5 separate regions of the Homo sapiens genome follow, and all the other regions are linked to region 1. The links are contacts of gene promoters, found by promoter capture Hi-C in blood cells and fetal thymus (Javierre and others, 2016). All regions are on one chromosome and are shown on one strand. The core of a region is centred on a gene start or on the middle of the fragment in contact, and the rest is flanking DNA. Distances in the headings are between cores, read along the strand shown. Region 1 holds the start of SLC35E3 (solute carrier family 35 member E3). Region 2 overlaps MDM1 (Mdm1 nuclear protein). Region 3 overlaps CPSF6 (cleavage and polyadenylation specific factor 6). Region 4 holds the start of IL22 (interleukin 22). Region 5 has its middle 49 kb from the start of MDM1.

Evidence for each region. Contacts are between HindIII fragments. The CHiCAGO score rates a contact against its expected background, and 5 or more counts as called.
Region 2: a contact is called between a fragment that was not itself captured here and the fragment with the promoter of SLC35E3 in region 1, in 4 of 17 cell types (erythroblasts, megakaryocytes, fetal thymus and 1 more). The highest score is 6.6, in erythroblasts.
Region 3: a contact is called between a fragment that was not itself captured here and the fragment with the promoter of SLC35E3 in region 1, in 1 of 17 cell types (M0 macrophages). The highest score is 7.1, in M0 macrophages.
Region 4: a contact is called between the fragment with the promoter of IL22 here and the fragment with the promoter of SLC35E3 in region 1, in 1 of 17 cell types (megakaryocytes). The highest score is 5.7, in megakaryocytes.
Region 5: a fragment that was not itself captured here is called in contact with the fragment with the promoter of SLC35E3 in region 1 in 4 of 17 cell types (naive CD8 T cells, activated CD4 T cells, non-activated CD4 T cells and 1 more); the score reaches 9.2 in naive CD8 T cells.

Annotation. Positions count from the first base shown.
Region 1 is chr12:68,744,766-68,747,465 of GRCh38, forward strand. SLC35E3 (solute carrier family 35 member E3) reads left to right here and starts at 1,411. Exons shown (of 5, transcript NM_018656.5): 1 at 1,411-2,014. The coding sequence starts at 1,613. NUP107 (nucleoporin 107) reads left to right here. Exons shown (of 28, transcript NM_020401.4): 28 at 1-1,044. RefSeq lists enhancers at 1,084-1,774, 1,624-1,723, 1,774-1,883, 2,244-2,433. The HindIII fragment of the contact is 13,773 bases long and covers 1-2,700 here.
Region 2 is chr12:68,317,541-68,320,240 of GRCh38, forward strand. The region is part of intron 7 of MDM1 (Mdm1 nuclear protein); the gene reads right to left. Among named protein-coding and RNA genes, the nearest start is that of MDM1, 13 kb to the right of the region's middle. The HindIII fragment of the contact is 5,517 bases long and covers 1-2,700 here.
Region 3 is chr12:69,253,989-69,256,688 of GRCh38, forward strand. The region is part of intron 3 of CPSF6 (cleavage and polyadenylation specific factor 6); the gene reads left to right. Among named protein-coding and RNA genes, the nearest start is that of CPSF6, 16 kb to the left of the region's middle. RefSeq lists an enhancer at 63-112. The HindIII fragment of the contact is 1,296 bases long and covers 802-2,097 here.
Region 4 is chr12:68,252,259-68,254,958 of GRCh38, forward strand. It overlaps IL22 (interleukin 22), which reads right to left and starts at 1,346. Exons shown (of 6, transcript NM_020525.5): 1 at 1,325-1,346; 2 at 1,005-1,236; 3 at 506-571; 4 at 246-389. The coding sequence starts at 1,190. The HindIII fragment of the contact is 7,204 bases long and covers 1-2,700 here.
Region 5 is chr12:68,379,666-68,382,365 of GRCh38, forward strand. No RefSeq gene overlaps it. Among named protein-coding and RNA genes, the nearest start is that of MDM1, 49 kb to the left of the region's middle. The HindIII fragment of the contact is 1,909 bases long and covers 343-2,251 here.

The DNA of each region.
Region 1 (2,700 bases), core at 161-2,660:
GCCAATGTGCTCCTCACAATTCCCAAATGCCTCTCTTCCTGAACACCAGAAGTGGTGGGCACCTGAGTGGGAAATTTCAGGCAACTTAATTTAGTTCCTCAGTGCCTACTCTTGAAGAACTGGGTTTTCATTCTAGAGAGGAAACTCAGGGAAGGGCGTGTTGCCTATCACAGGTTCGCATACTAAGTTTTAAAAACTTTTCTTGGTGTGACTTATGCCAAGGAATTATGAAGACTTTTTCCTTGAGCATTGCATGAAGGCTACAAAGTTGGAACAGGCATGTCCTGGGTGTGAAAGTTTTAATTTCCCTACCTCATTTATTTATTTAATTTAGAGATGGGGGTCTCACTATGTTGCCCATCCCGGCTTCCAACTCCTGGGCTCAAGCAATCCTCCCACGTCAGTCTCTCAAATAGCTGGGACTACAGGCCCACGCCACCATGCCCTACTTCCTCATTTATTTTAAATTTTTTGTACCACAGTCTCTCTTTTTAATTTTATGACTGCTGAATTAATCCTAGACTCTGTCTTAAAACTAAGAATTGATGTATTGGCAGGAACAGCTGGACATTCAAGATGTTTTTGTGATTCCTTTTTTAAAAATCTCCTTTTGTACCTGTAATATCTACAATATATAATCTTTCTTTATCGACTTAAGGAGGAAGGAGAAAGGAAGAACCTGACTTCTGTGTGAAGGACCTTACTGTCGATCAAGACTGTTACTCAAAGTTCTATCTCTTAGTCATTGCACCTGACCTGATCCAAAACATATATATATATTTGTATGCACCCCTAGAGACAGCTGTATATATATACGGTTTTGCCAGGTTGTACGTTTTTTTCTCGAGTTGTAAGTGAACACAGTAGCACTCGTTTACATTGTCAAGGGGACATCTTTAGAGAACACATTTTCTCACTGTTGAGCTAATAATGCTTTGTGAATGTATGATCTAAGGAGAAACCCTTGTAGTTATACCCGATGATGCTGTCTGTTGGAAAGTAAATTTTGAATGTCTTTTTCCAAAAATAAAAAATAAAAACATGCTTTCAATAAGTTCTTTCCCCCCTCTGGCGAGGGCTACTAAATTTGCTCAGCATTTAATACGTAAAATTGGCTAACAGTGTCTGCACAGCCAGAGAGAAGTTGTCTAGCAAATCGGGTCAATGACACACAGGAAACAAACATCAAGAAAGGGGTCCTAGATTGGTCCAGTCAGGTAGGCGTTAGGTGACCAAGGGGGTCGGGGACCCAGAGGATAGGACCCAAAGACGCAAGCGTCGCGCGCCCAAGGCTCAGCGCGCCTGCGCAGGGTAGCGGCCGTTCAGCCAGCGGCTCGGGGGCGGAAGCACTGGAGCCCCGAGTCACGTGGCTGCGGGCGGAGATGAGCGGGGCGTGGGACGTGCTGCGGCGTCCTAGCTGGCTTACAGGGCGGCGGCGGGGTGTGTGTCCTCTGTTAAGAGTGCTACTCGCCCGGGGTTGATCTGTGCATGCCACTCCTGGGTCAGACGGTGAGGTCGGCGTCTGCGAGGACGCGGCGGTGGAGTAGAAGGGCAGCCGGAGACAGGCCCGGCGCCCCTTCCGAGGCTAGACGGCCCCAGCTTCGCGGGGATCATGGCATTGCTGGTGGACCGAGTGCGGGGCCACTGGCGAATCGCCGCCGGGCTCCTGTTCAACCTGCTGGTGTCCATCTGCATTGTGTTCCTCAACAAATGGATTTATGTGTACCACGGCTTCCCCAACATGAGCCTGACCCTGGTGCACTTCGTGGTCACCTGGCTGGGCTTGTATATCTGCCAGAAGCTGGACATCTTTGCCCCCAAAAGTCTGCCGCCCTCCAGGCTCCTCCTCCTGGCCCTCAGCTTCTGTGGCTTTGTGGTCTTCACTAACCTTTCTCTGCAGAACAACACCATAGGCACCTATCAGCTGGCCAAGGCCATGACCACGCCGGTGATCATAGCCATCCAGACCTTCTGCTACCAGAAAACCTTCTCCACCAGAATCCAGCTCACGCTGGTGAGTAGCTTCAGCTTCCCAAGGCGCCGCTCTCCCGACCCACCTCCTGCACTGGCCCCGGGAAATTCGAACGCACACTGGTCTTTCCCTTCATCTTGAAATCCACAAATGAGTCATCTGTGGGCATGTGAACTTTTAGGCTTATTTTAGGGAGGGGGAAAAGGCCATCTTGTCAGCCCAGAAGAGTGGGCATGTGTGAATTTTAGTAGCTGCCATTTGATGGAAATCGTTAAATGCTGTGATCGATAAGAAAAAAAGCTGTATTGGGTGGTACAGTCCAGTGTTATCAGAATATCTGCAAAAGCTCAAACAAAAACAGCCTTTCTCCCCCAGGGGAATCAAATCGTGTATGATAAAACGTGAAAAGATGTAGCATAAAGTAGGTCTCAAAACGTCTGCAGCACCATACTTTAGAGCTGTCTGCATCTTTAAATAAAAGGAGGTGGACTCAATTTTAGCACTTAGTAACTTATTTAAGGTCTTTTTCTTTTTTTTTTTTTTCTTTTTGAGACGGAATTTCACTCTTGTTGCCCAGGCTGGAGTGCAATGGCACGATCTCGGCTCACCGCAACCTCCGCCTCCCGGGTTTAAGCGATTCTCCTGCCTCAGCCTCCCGAGTAGCTGGGATTACAGGCATGCGCCACCACGCCCGGCTAATTTTGTATTTTTAGTAAAGACGGGGTTTC
Region 2 (2,700 bases), core at 3-2,502, 430 kb before region 1:
CACCTATATGGCATAAGAAACCATATAATCCCAACAGAGTCCTACTCTAATGAACCATACCTGAAAAAAGTTCCTAAAGGATAATTTGAAATATTTTCTTCACTGCCAAAAAAAAAGCTATGTTCATTTATCATTTCTATCAACTCCTATACCTTTAAAGAAAATTTCTAGCAGTGGTTTTTGCATTTAACAGGTAGAAGTGAGGTACATGAATTAACTCTACTGAACTTCTAACCAGGGTATTCTGAATGCACAGGAACCTTGTTATAAAGTGCCTCGATATACTCCAGATTTTATTGCCAGTAAGTGCCCCCATGCTTCAAATGTTTCAGGGCCACTCCATCACCTACATGCCTCAGCATCACTTCCTCCTCTGTGTTCTCAGAGTTCTTTGGGCACATCCCCATTAATACATATTCAATTTTACTGGAATTAATTGCACATGCCCTCCTCCTCCATCAACCTATGAACTTCTTGAGGTGAGGGAAAACGCAGCACTTAAGCACTGAGCCCACAACCTGTCCTGAGTGCAGACTAAGTGGTATGCCTGAGCTAAACATGGCAGCCAAAGATAAGCAAGAAACTCCCTGCACTCAGTGAGCCAACCTGTACATAAATTGTCATAATATTGATGGGGGTCTATGCCATAATAAACAAATGAAATGAAATGTAAGTTGAAGGAGTAGTTCAAAAGGGGGACCAATCAGTCCTGCACTGTGTTGGGTAGATTGACGGGGCAGTGGGGGTGGAAGGGACAGCAGAGGCAGCTGCATCTATCCATGCATGATGAATGAAAGGATGGATGAATACCCTCCATGTACACAGTCATCCAGTTTTATTTGACGTCAATTTTATTTAGAAAGGAGGGGGAGAGTATACTTCATAAAAATTCTGAAGACTTTGATTTATTCAGTTCTATTTGTTACTGACATTTAAAACTAAGTGCTTTAAATTTACTATATCAACAATCTTTATTAATCTCAGTGCTAATATTATATTTTACAAATATGATTTTAAATATCTTTAGCCCTAAACTAAGATGAAAAATTAAAAGGCTGACATTTTCCAAAGTAGTATGTTCTACTAAAAAGAGGAGGAAAAAAATCAATAGCATGAACTCAATGTTAAATAGAACAATCCCTATAGCCAACTGCCAGAGCCACCAAAAAGGATAGAAATAAACCATTCCCAACTCAACAACATACACACACCTTTCTGGGCCAAGTAATGTTATCATATTATATATTATGATACAATTATAAGTAGAATGTTTCCTTTTCTGAATTTCTTTGTCCAAATTAAGAGTTCAACTAAATTATTTAAAACATATGCAGAAAATTCAAACTCAAGAAACTGGGGATAAAAACTCCTTTTACCCAAAAACCATCCCCCCAAAATGAGGGGTCACTTTATACCTAGTCTTTACAATGTCTGTCAAATTACAGGACATCTCTCAAATGCAGGACTTTATCTTGAAACACAGTCCTATTTGTGGAAGACACATTGGAATAAAATCACCTCAACCAATCGATGATGAAAAGATTACCTAACAATTAAGAAAAAAAGAAGTTTAACATAGATTAAGTAGTTATTCTGAGGATAGAACCTAAAAAGTTCTAATTGCTGACTATTAAGAAACAATCCCTTAAGTGAGCATTTTAAAAAGCAATAGTCAAGTGGTTATTATAATGGAGATGACAAATACACAACCACTGGGCAAATAAAACCAACCACCCTAATGCTCTATGAGAGGTAACTGGGACTTGGCATAGAATTTCCAGTGACTAGACTATAAACAGATTCAAAAAGTATATCTCAAACATAGAAAGAAATAAAGATGATATATGGACTCGAAAACTAATGTGACTCAAAAAGTGAGTTAATATTCCAACAACAAAGTCACTTATGTCTGAGTGCATGTGAGGAGTGTGAATACACTCCTTCCTGAAATGTTAGGAGTGGGAAAATGAAGGAGTACTGTACCTTATATTTAGGAACCTCATAATCAGATGCCTATAGTAAATGACTTCCAAGAGATATAAGTAAAACATGGCTCATATTAAATGTCTATAACCTGGTCAACTAAAACTGTTATCATCAATGATCACTGACTTCTTAGCTAAAAATTCTTATTCTTTTCCAACTTCAATTTACTTTTTGAATTATTTTTCTCAAAGAAATTAAGGCAAACTATACCACTAATTTAAATATTTACAACCACCATTATAGTATTTAATAAGCAAAAAAAGCTGCATTACCAAGATATCATAATAGGAAACCTTGAAAAGTCTATCTTAAATTGACAACAACAATGTTCTCTTCCATCAAGGCAGGATAAGGAATCTCATCTTACTATGACTTCAGTTTTAACAATCTTCTCAATTAGATGTTTAGTTCTGATGCCTAAACTCATCTTAGTTTAAAGAAATCGCTGCTCGGCCTTTTGGCTGAGATCAAGCGTAGAAATCTCAGAGAAAACACAGTCTTCAAAACAAAGAGTTTCTCATAACCTCAACCTAGTGTCACGCCTAAACACAACAGGCCAGCGGCTGACATCAATTTACCAGCCACACATACTGTTCTGCCTCTGTCCTGCTTTTCCTCACTCCCACTATCAGACTCCTCAGTCAGGGAGATCTTTGCCAAGACTTGGGATGGTCATAAACTGCTCAAGAGTTTAGCTGACTCACTGCCTTTCTT
Region 3 (2,700 bases), core at 200-2,699, 510 kb after region 1:
TTAGAAGATTATACCAATTTATACTAAACTGAGAATATTTTCAAAATATATGCAGAGTCTGAATACTTCTCACTAACTTTACTTATACCACTTGGTCAAAGCCACTATCATCTCTCACTTAAACTTTGGCAGTAGCTTCCTAACTGGAAGTATAGACTGCCCCCTACAGTCTGTACTCCACATAACAGAAGTTCTAAAAAAAAAATGACATTCTGCTCAATCTTCTCATGGTTTCCTGTCTGTCTCATTCTTTACCATTGTCTACAAGGTACTTTCTGGTCTGTTTTCCCACCACCTTTCTAACCCTATCCTACCACTCTTTTTCAGCCACATTAGTCTCTTTGCTGTTGGCCAGACCAATTCCTACCTAGGACCTTTAGCTGTTTTCTCTTCTTGGTTTACTTTTCCCCCTCAAATATCCACATGGCTTACTCTTTGACTTCATTCAGGACTCAAACTGTTTAAGAGTTTTCTTCCATGACCATCTTGTGCAAAGTAGCACCTTCCTATCCTGTTTCCTTTATTTCTGCTCTGATATATTTTACTCGTTTGTTGTCTCCTCTTCCAAGCCTTTAAGCTTAATGAGAACAGAGATTTTGTTTTGTTCTCTATTACTTCTCCAGCTCTAGAATGGTACCTTGCGTATAAGAAGTGGTGCTTAATAAATATTTGTTAAATTAATTTAGTTTTTTCTAAATGTTGTGACCCAAGATAATCCTGGTGCAAACAGCAGAACTTGTTGACTAAAATAAGAAGGATAATTTAAAAGATCATATTGAACATTAGGGGGAAAAGAGCTTAAGCTTCTTAAGCTACTAAGACCCTCCCTCCCTCAAATAATTTAGAATATCCTGTAACTATACGAATTGGTAATCATTCTGATTATTTTAAATTTGTTTTTCTTTTTGAGGTATAATTCATATGCCATAAAATGCAGGCTTTTAAATGTACAATTCAATGATAATTTATTATATTTATGAAGTTTAGCAACCATTACCACTGTCTCATTCCAGAACATTTCATCACTCCAAGAAGGAACCTTGTACCTGGTTAGCAGTCACTCCCATTTCCTCTCTTCCTATCTGCTGGCAACTGCTAACGTGCTCTGGATATGCCTGTTCTGGACATTTCATCTAAATGGAATCATAAAATACGTAGTCCTATGTGACTGGCTTTTTTCCTTAGCATAATGATTTTAAGGTTCATCCATGTTGAAGCATGCATCAGCATTTCTTTTTATGGCTGAGTAATATTCCACTACATGGATATAGCACTTTTTTCTTTTAATCTATCAGTCGATGGACGTCTAGGTTATTTCCACTTTTGGCTATTAAGGAAAATGCCCCTGTGAATATTTGTGTACCCATTTTGTGTGAACATGTATTTTCAGTTCTGTTGGATGTGTACCTAGGAATGGAATTACTGGGTTAATATAGTAACTCTATGTTTAAATGTTTGAGGAATTACCAGATTATTTGCCAGAGGCATTGTGCCATTTTATTAATACGTGCTCATCAGCAATGTGCAATGGTTCCAGTTTCTCCACATATTTATTTATTTATTTATTTATTGAGACAGAGTCTCACTCTGTCACCCAGGCTGGAGTGCAGTGGCGCAATCTTGGCTCATTGCAACTTCTGCCTCCCAGGTTCAAGCGATTCTCCTGTCTCAGCCTCCCAGCGTGGGACTACAGGCACACGCCACCATGCCTGGCTAATTTTTGAATTTTTAGTAGAGACGGGGTTTCACCATGTTGGTCAGGCTGGTCTTGAACTCCTGACCTCATGATCCTCCTGCCTTGGCCTCCCAAAGTGCTGAGATTATAGGCGTGAGCCACTGCACCCGGCCTCTCCACATCTTTAATACTTGTCTTTTTGATTATAGCCACCCTAGTGGGTATGGGGTGGTATCTTGTGGTTTTGATTTGCACTTCCCCAATAGTTAATGATATTGTACATCTTTTTATTGTAGCAAAAAGTGGAAGCAACCCAAATGTCCATGAACTGATGGATACATTTCTTTTAATGTTGTATATTTATAATGGAAAATTATTCACCCATAAAAGTAAGTGGTGATGCATGCTGTAACAGTGGATGAAGCTTGAAAACATGCTAGTTAAAGAAGGCTGGTCACAAGGGACCTCCTATTGTATGATTCCATTTAGATGAAATGTCTAGGATAGGCCAGTCCAGAGACAGAAATTAGGTTTAGTGGTTCCATAGGGTACAGGGATGGGAAGGAATGGGAGCGATGGCTAATGGATATGGAGTTTCTTTTTGGGGTGATGAAAATGTTTTAAAATTGATTATGGTGGTGGTTATAACACTGTGAAATACTAAAAACCACTGAATTATATATTTTGAATGACTGAATTCTATGGTATGTTATACAAGATGAACAAAAATGTGTACTCGTATAGTTAAGAAATATTTTTAGTTTTTAAAATTATTTATTTTTAGAGACAGGATCTCACTGTGTTGCCCAGGCTGGAGTGCAGTAGTGTGATTATAGGTTACTGTAGCCTCAAACTCCTGGGCTCAAGCAATCCTCGTGCCTCAACCTTCTAAGCAGCTGGGATTACAGGCATGAGCCACTGTGCCCAGCTGTTGTTTTAGATAAAAGCAGATTAAGACCTTTTTACAGAAGAATAACAGTAATAATATTGATCTCTTTTTACTTTGTATCCTCACCCCTTAAACA
Region 4 (2,700 bases), core at 96-2,595, 490 kb before region 1:
AAACCAATGCGGCTTCTGTACACTTAAGTTCCAGACCCCATTCACCACTATAAACTCAAGATGTGACTCAGTCAAAGCAAAAGCAAATACTCTATGATCCCAAATGACTCCTGATAACACTGCTGCCAAGACACTTCTTCCTGCTAGCTTAGGGGTAGGGGGAAGGAGAGAGAGTTGGGGTAAGGGGGTCTCTGTGGAAGGAGGGAAGGAGGGGTAGGTGGGCATAGGCTGAGAGCTGAACTTACACATGTGCTTAGCCTGTTGCTGAGCCTGGCCAGGAAGGGCACCACCTCCTGCATATAAGGCTGGAACCTATCAGATTGAGGGAACAGCACTTCTTCAAGGGTGAAGTTCAGCACCTGCTTCATCAGATAGCAGCGCTCACTCATCTGCAGGTGGAAGGGAAACAGAAAGGGTCATAAGGGATAAGACCTAAACCATCATCACCACCACCCCAAGTACCCATGGACGGCACACGGCCCTGTTCGTCACAACTGTAGCTTACACTGACTCCGTGGAACAGTTTCTCCCCAATGAGACGAACGTCTGTGTTGTTATCAGCCAAGCTAGCCTGGAAGAGAAGAAAAGACTAAGGGTCTGGACATTGAGCAAATAGAAAAAAAATTTATACATAGACATGTGCCCCATCCCGTCTCCCCAGAGCAACATCATAAAGACTAAAAGCAGAATTCAGATGTGTGCATGAGTTTAGAACAATGCACAGAGGCATAAAGGAAAAAAAAAATCATCAGATGGATTACTGAATGGCCGCTCTTTGGGAAAAATTCATCATATGTATCATAAAGGCCAAAATGGAAGGAAGAAGTTCAAGAAAAAAAAAAAAGCCAGATTCCCAAAGAGTCTCTGAAAAAACAGAAAATTTATCTACCCTCAGGGATAAACAGTGGGTTCCTAAAGCTCTTAGAGATGCTCTGAAGAAAAGTTTAAGAACTATTTGGATTCCAAGTAGATCCAACGAGAAAGAGCAGGATTGAGATGTATACCTCCTTAGCCAGCATGAAGGTGCGGTTGGTGATATAGGGCTGCTGGAAGTTGGACTTGTCAAGCCTGCAGTGGGAGCTGATGGGCGCAGCTGCTCCTCCCTGTACCAAGAGGGCCAAGAGAAGGAGGCAGCTGGTGGCCAGGGTCCCCATAAGGAAAGAGCTCACAGATTTCTGCAGGGCGGCCATTGCAGACAATTCTAACTCGAGCAACTGGTGACTGGGGAAGGAGAACCTGGTCGAAGACAACGTGAAGGAACAAAATTAGTCAAGAAGTATTTCATCAAACTAACCAATTGTACCAAGTTTGCCGAAACGCTTACCTGTTCTGAAGATTCTGCTTGTGACGGGGAAGGTAGAAGCTGCTGCTTTTATAGCCCCCAGGATACTGACTTTTTTTTAATTGTGAAAAATATGACATCAGCAATTATCTAATTTCCAGTACTGTCTTCTGAGAACGACCTAACCACCACAGGAGCCCACAAAACACCACCTCTATCCTTTCCACCTTGAGATGCAAGTGTTTCCCTAAAACGTCACTATTAGAGCCCGGAGGGTATTTTACAGACAAATCCCAGAAATTTTCTAAACCCTACATATTTTTCAAAGAACACAATTGTTTTGTCTTAGTAGAGTTCAGATTTAGTATAAAATGTTTTGATCTCCTATAGTGGCTGAGTAAGCATTTTGGTCACGGACTCATTTTCCTACCAGCTTTATAGATTCTTATCTCATTGGAGGTGATCAGAAAAAAAGGACCCATGTCCTATATCCTCTGCTTTAAAGTAAATGGTAATGACAGCTAACAGATCATTCCATTATTAAAATAATTTTATCTCATTTTTAAACATGCTGAATTCTAAACCAGACTTATGTTTCAAAAATAACTGTCTTGGCTAATCTAATTATTGTTTTCTTCCCTTTTTGGAACTATTTTTAAGTGATCATAACAATTAAGGCAGAAGTAAATATATCTTAAAATTGTATTAATTGAATTATAATCAATATCAACTTAAGTTTGTAAATACTAATGCTGAAAATCTGATCTCCTTTTTTCTTAACATGTAAACTTTTTTTAAAATAAAAGAATACCATGGATATAGTTCATCTTAAAATTTTACCTAATTCTACACTTCACACAAGTCTCAACATAATATTTCCAAATAATCCTATAACAACTATATATGTGTGTGTATATATATTATATATGTGTGTATACTATATATATACATATATATGCAACATTTTATATATATACATATATACACACACACACATGGATGTCTGAAGAAGGGAATATAGGAATATAGAGGTTCCGCGTTACCTTCAAATTATTTAAAAATACACCTAAAACTAGACTGGAAATTCTCCCGCAGAGCAAGGAAGCAAATGCAAGTATCAAAATGCAAATACCTATTGCTGAGGGAAGGAATGTGAATTAGTGCAAATTTGTATAATCAGATTTTTCTCCTCACAACTAGTTAAGATCAGGAGTGTTGAAGAACTGGAAGTAGGGATGTAAATAATTGTAAAACCTAGACCACTTTTTGAGATGGCACAGACCTAAGCAAGGTGCCACTGCAAAGGGTCGGAACCACATGAGGACACTGAGCATTTGTGAAGGTGGCCAGAGGAGAAAGAAGCAAAAATGAAGATTAGTGAGAGTAAAAAACACCACATGATCACACTTGCATGTGGA
Region 5 (2,700 bases), core at 47-2,546, 370 kb before region 1:
AAGATTTTTAATTTATAGTGTAGCTCCCATGTAAGGATATGTATATTAACCTAGAACAACCTTGCTAGTTTCCATACGCCAGACTTAAAAATAAATTTATGATTAAAACCTTTTTAAGAATTCCAACAATACTGAGTGACCATCAATTCTTTAGAAAATGGGAACTAATTAATGGAAATTTTCTTCAAAGAATCTGACCTATTAAACATGATATTAAATATTCATCTATTTTAAAAGCTGCAAATGTCAATGAAAAAAATAAAGCTGTCAAATGCTAGGAGCATTTCATTAAGAAAGCAGCTTCAAACATTGATGAGAGTTTTATAAAGTTAGGAACTCTCAAGCTTTACCTCCTAGTGAAGAAGTTACTAATATTGTCTTTATTATAATCAAAATGCCAAAAGAGCAGGAAAACAGCAGTATGGGGCCCTGAATTGAAGTCCCTCTTTTTCCATGTTTCTACTAGCCCAGCCCTTTTGTAAATAAAACCTTTATACAACTAAAGCAGCACTGACTTCAATGGGAAGTTATGATATCAGTGCTACAGTGAAATGGATTGCTACAAACAGAATAAGAGAGGAATAGATTGGATAATCAACACATATAGCAACTCAAAAGGATCGTTTTAGTGATTTCTTTTAATCTTCTCTACTACTAAGTATTTCACATAAGGATGCTTTTGGCTGCAAGTAACAGAATATCCAACTAACAGTGGCATTAAAAAAAGGGGTTCTGGTTTTCTATTGCTATAATATATAACAAACCAAAATTTAGTGGCTTAAAATAACATTTATTTTGTTCCTAGTCTGCAATTTGGGAAGGGCTTGGTGGGTGGCAGCTTGTCTGCTCCACTTGGCACCAGCTAGGGCACTTGAAGACTGGGGCCAGAGTCATCTGAAGGCTGCTTCACTCTCATGTTTGACAGTTCTTGCTGAGAAGACTCAGAGAGCTAGAGGCTGGTACAGCTGGGGCTCCTCAGGCATCTCGATTTCTGTGTGTTCTCCCACATGAGTTCTTCAGCATGGCAGCTTCAATGTAGACTGACTTCTAACATGTCAGCTCAAAGCTCCCAAGGCACATGTCAGAGAGAAGAAAAAGGCAGAAACCGCATCACTTGTGAACCTAGCATGGAGAGTCATGCAGTGTCACATCTACTGAATTCTACTAGTTAGAATCAAGTGGGTAAGGCTGGCCTATATTCAAGGGAGGGTGAATTAGACTTTGCTGGGAGGAGTGTCAAAGAATTTGTGGCCTTGTATTAAACCTACCACAAAGGGATTTATTTTTCATGTATGATGTCTAAAGGGAAGCAGTACTGTATAATATGGGGCTCCATGATCTAATAAAAACCAAGGGTTCATCTGTTCATCTATAATTCTGCTCTACCATTTTTAGATTGGCATATTGTCTCAAAGTTGCAAGCTGACTGCTATAGATCCAGACATTGTAGCCATGTTCAAGACCAAGAGGGGTGGAAAGAATAGTGCCTGCAGTTCTGGCCTCTTTTATTAGGAAATCAAAAGCCGTTCCCAAAACCCACCTCAGCAGAATTCTGCTTATGCCACATTGGCCAGAACTGTTACAAGGCCACCCCTTGCTTCAAGGGAGGTTAGAGCAGTGAATATTCAGCTTCTCCTTTCTCTACTGTAGAGGTCAGCGAGGATGAAGAGAGCCAGAAATGGGCATTGGGTCAGTCAAGCCATGCTTCTGACCTGCAAAGCCTCCATATCAGACCCAAAAATTCACAAGTAAGTAAGTAAGAGCTTCAAAGAACTTCTCTCCCTCAGCCAAGGTTAACTATAAAATGACCCAAATATGCTTAACAGACCAAAAAAAAAATTGGCTAATGAATGGAACTATTTACAACTGTATTTTTGCAAATAGAATCAAAAGCTAGATATTGAATTAAATGAATTGTTTCTACAGTTTAAACAGGAAGCAGAATGGGTTTCCCACAGAGCCATTTGCCGGCAAGATAGGAGGGACAAGGAAGAGGAGAGACCACTGACTTGTGATAAAATGTGAAAGCTGCCCTGCAGATTACCTTGGCTTCAGAGGCCTGGGGCCTAAAAATAATTTGGGGGCAGGGCAAAGAGGAACTCTTCACTTGTAAACCTAACCCAAATTCTATATCTTATTTTATAGAACATTCCTTCTTTTAACCTTGTTACTCACTAGTGAATGGAAACAGGAAAAACATTGTGAGTTGATGGATTTTATCTAACCCATCTGCAACGATTATTCAAATGTAAGCTTTAAAGTTTTATAACATTTAGCTAAAGAAGAATCAAAACTCTTTTCATTGCCCCGTGTAAGCACAAACACTCTCCTCGCCCTGCCAATTTGCCAGTCTACTGTCTCATGCTATGGTCTCATACAAGGATAAAAAAAATCACACCACAGCAGATATTTTTATAGACCCTTCATTCATACAAGCCTTGGCATATGACCGCAACAATAGCTAAAACTGAAAAATGAGACAACTGGATTTACTGACTGATAGTGTCTAGAACTCTCTCCCAGGTAATTTAATAGATGTACGTGAAAATGTGTGCTTTAAGGAGGACGCTGAATGTGAAGAAAGAATGCAACCACAGTGAGAGCTCCAGTACAATCCCAGGCTACAACTTCCAATGTCTGGTTCATCCTCAGAGAAAAAGGAATGAGGAAAGGAAATATTTTCCTTTAAATTGAAAGAAC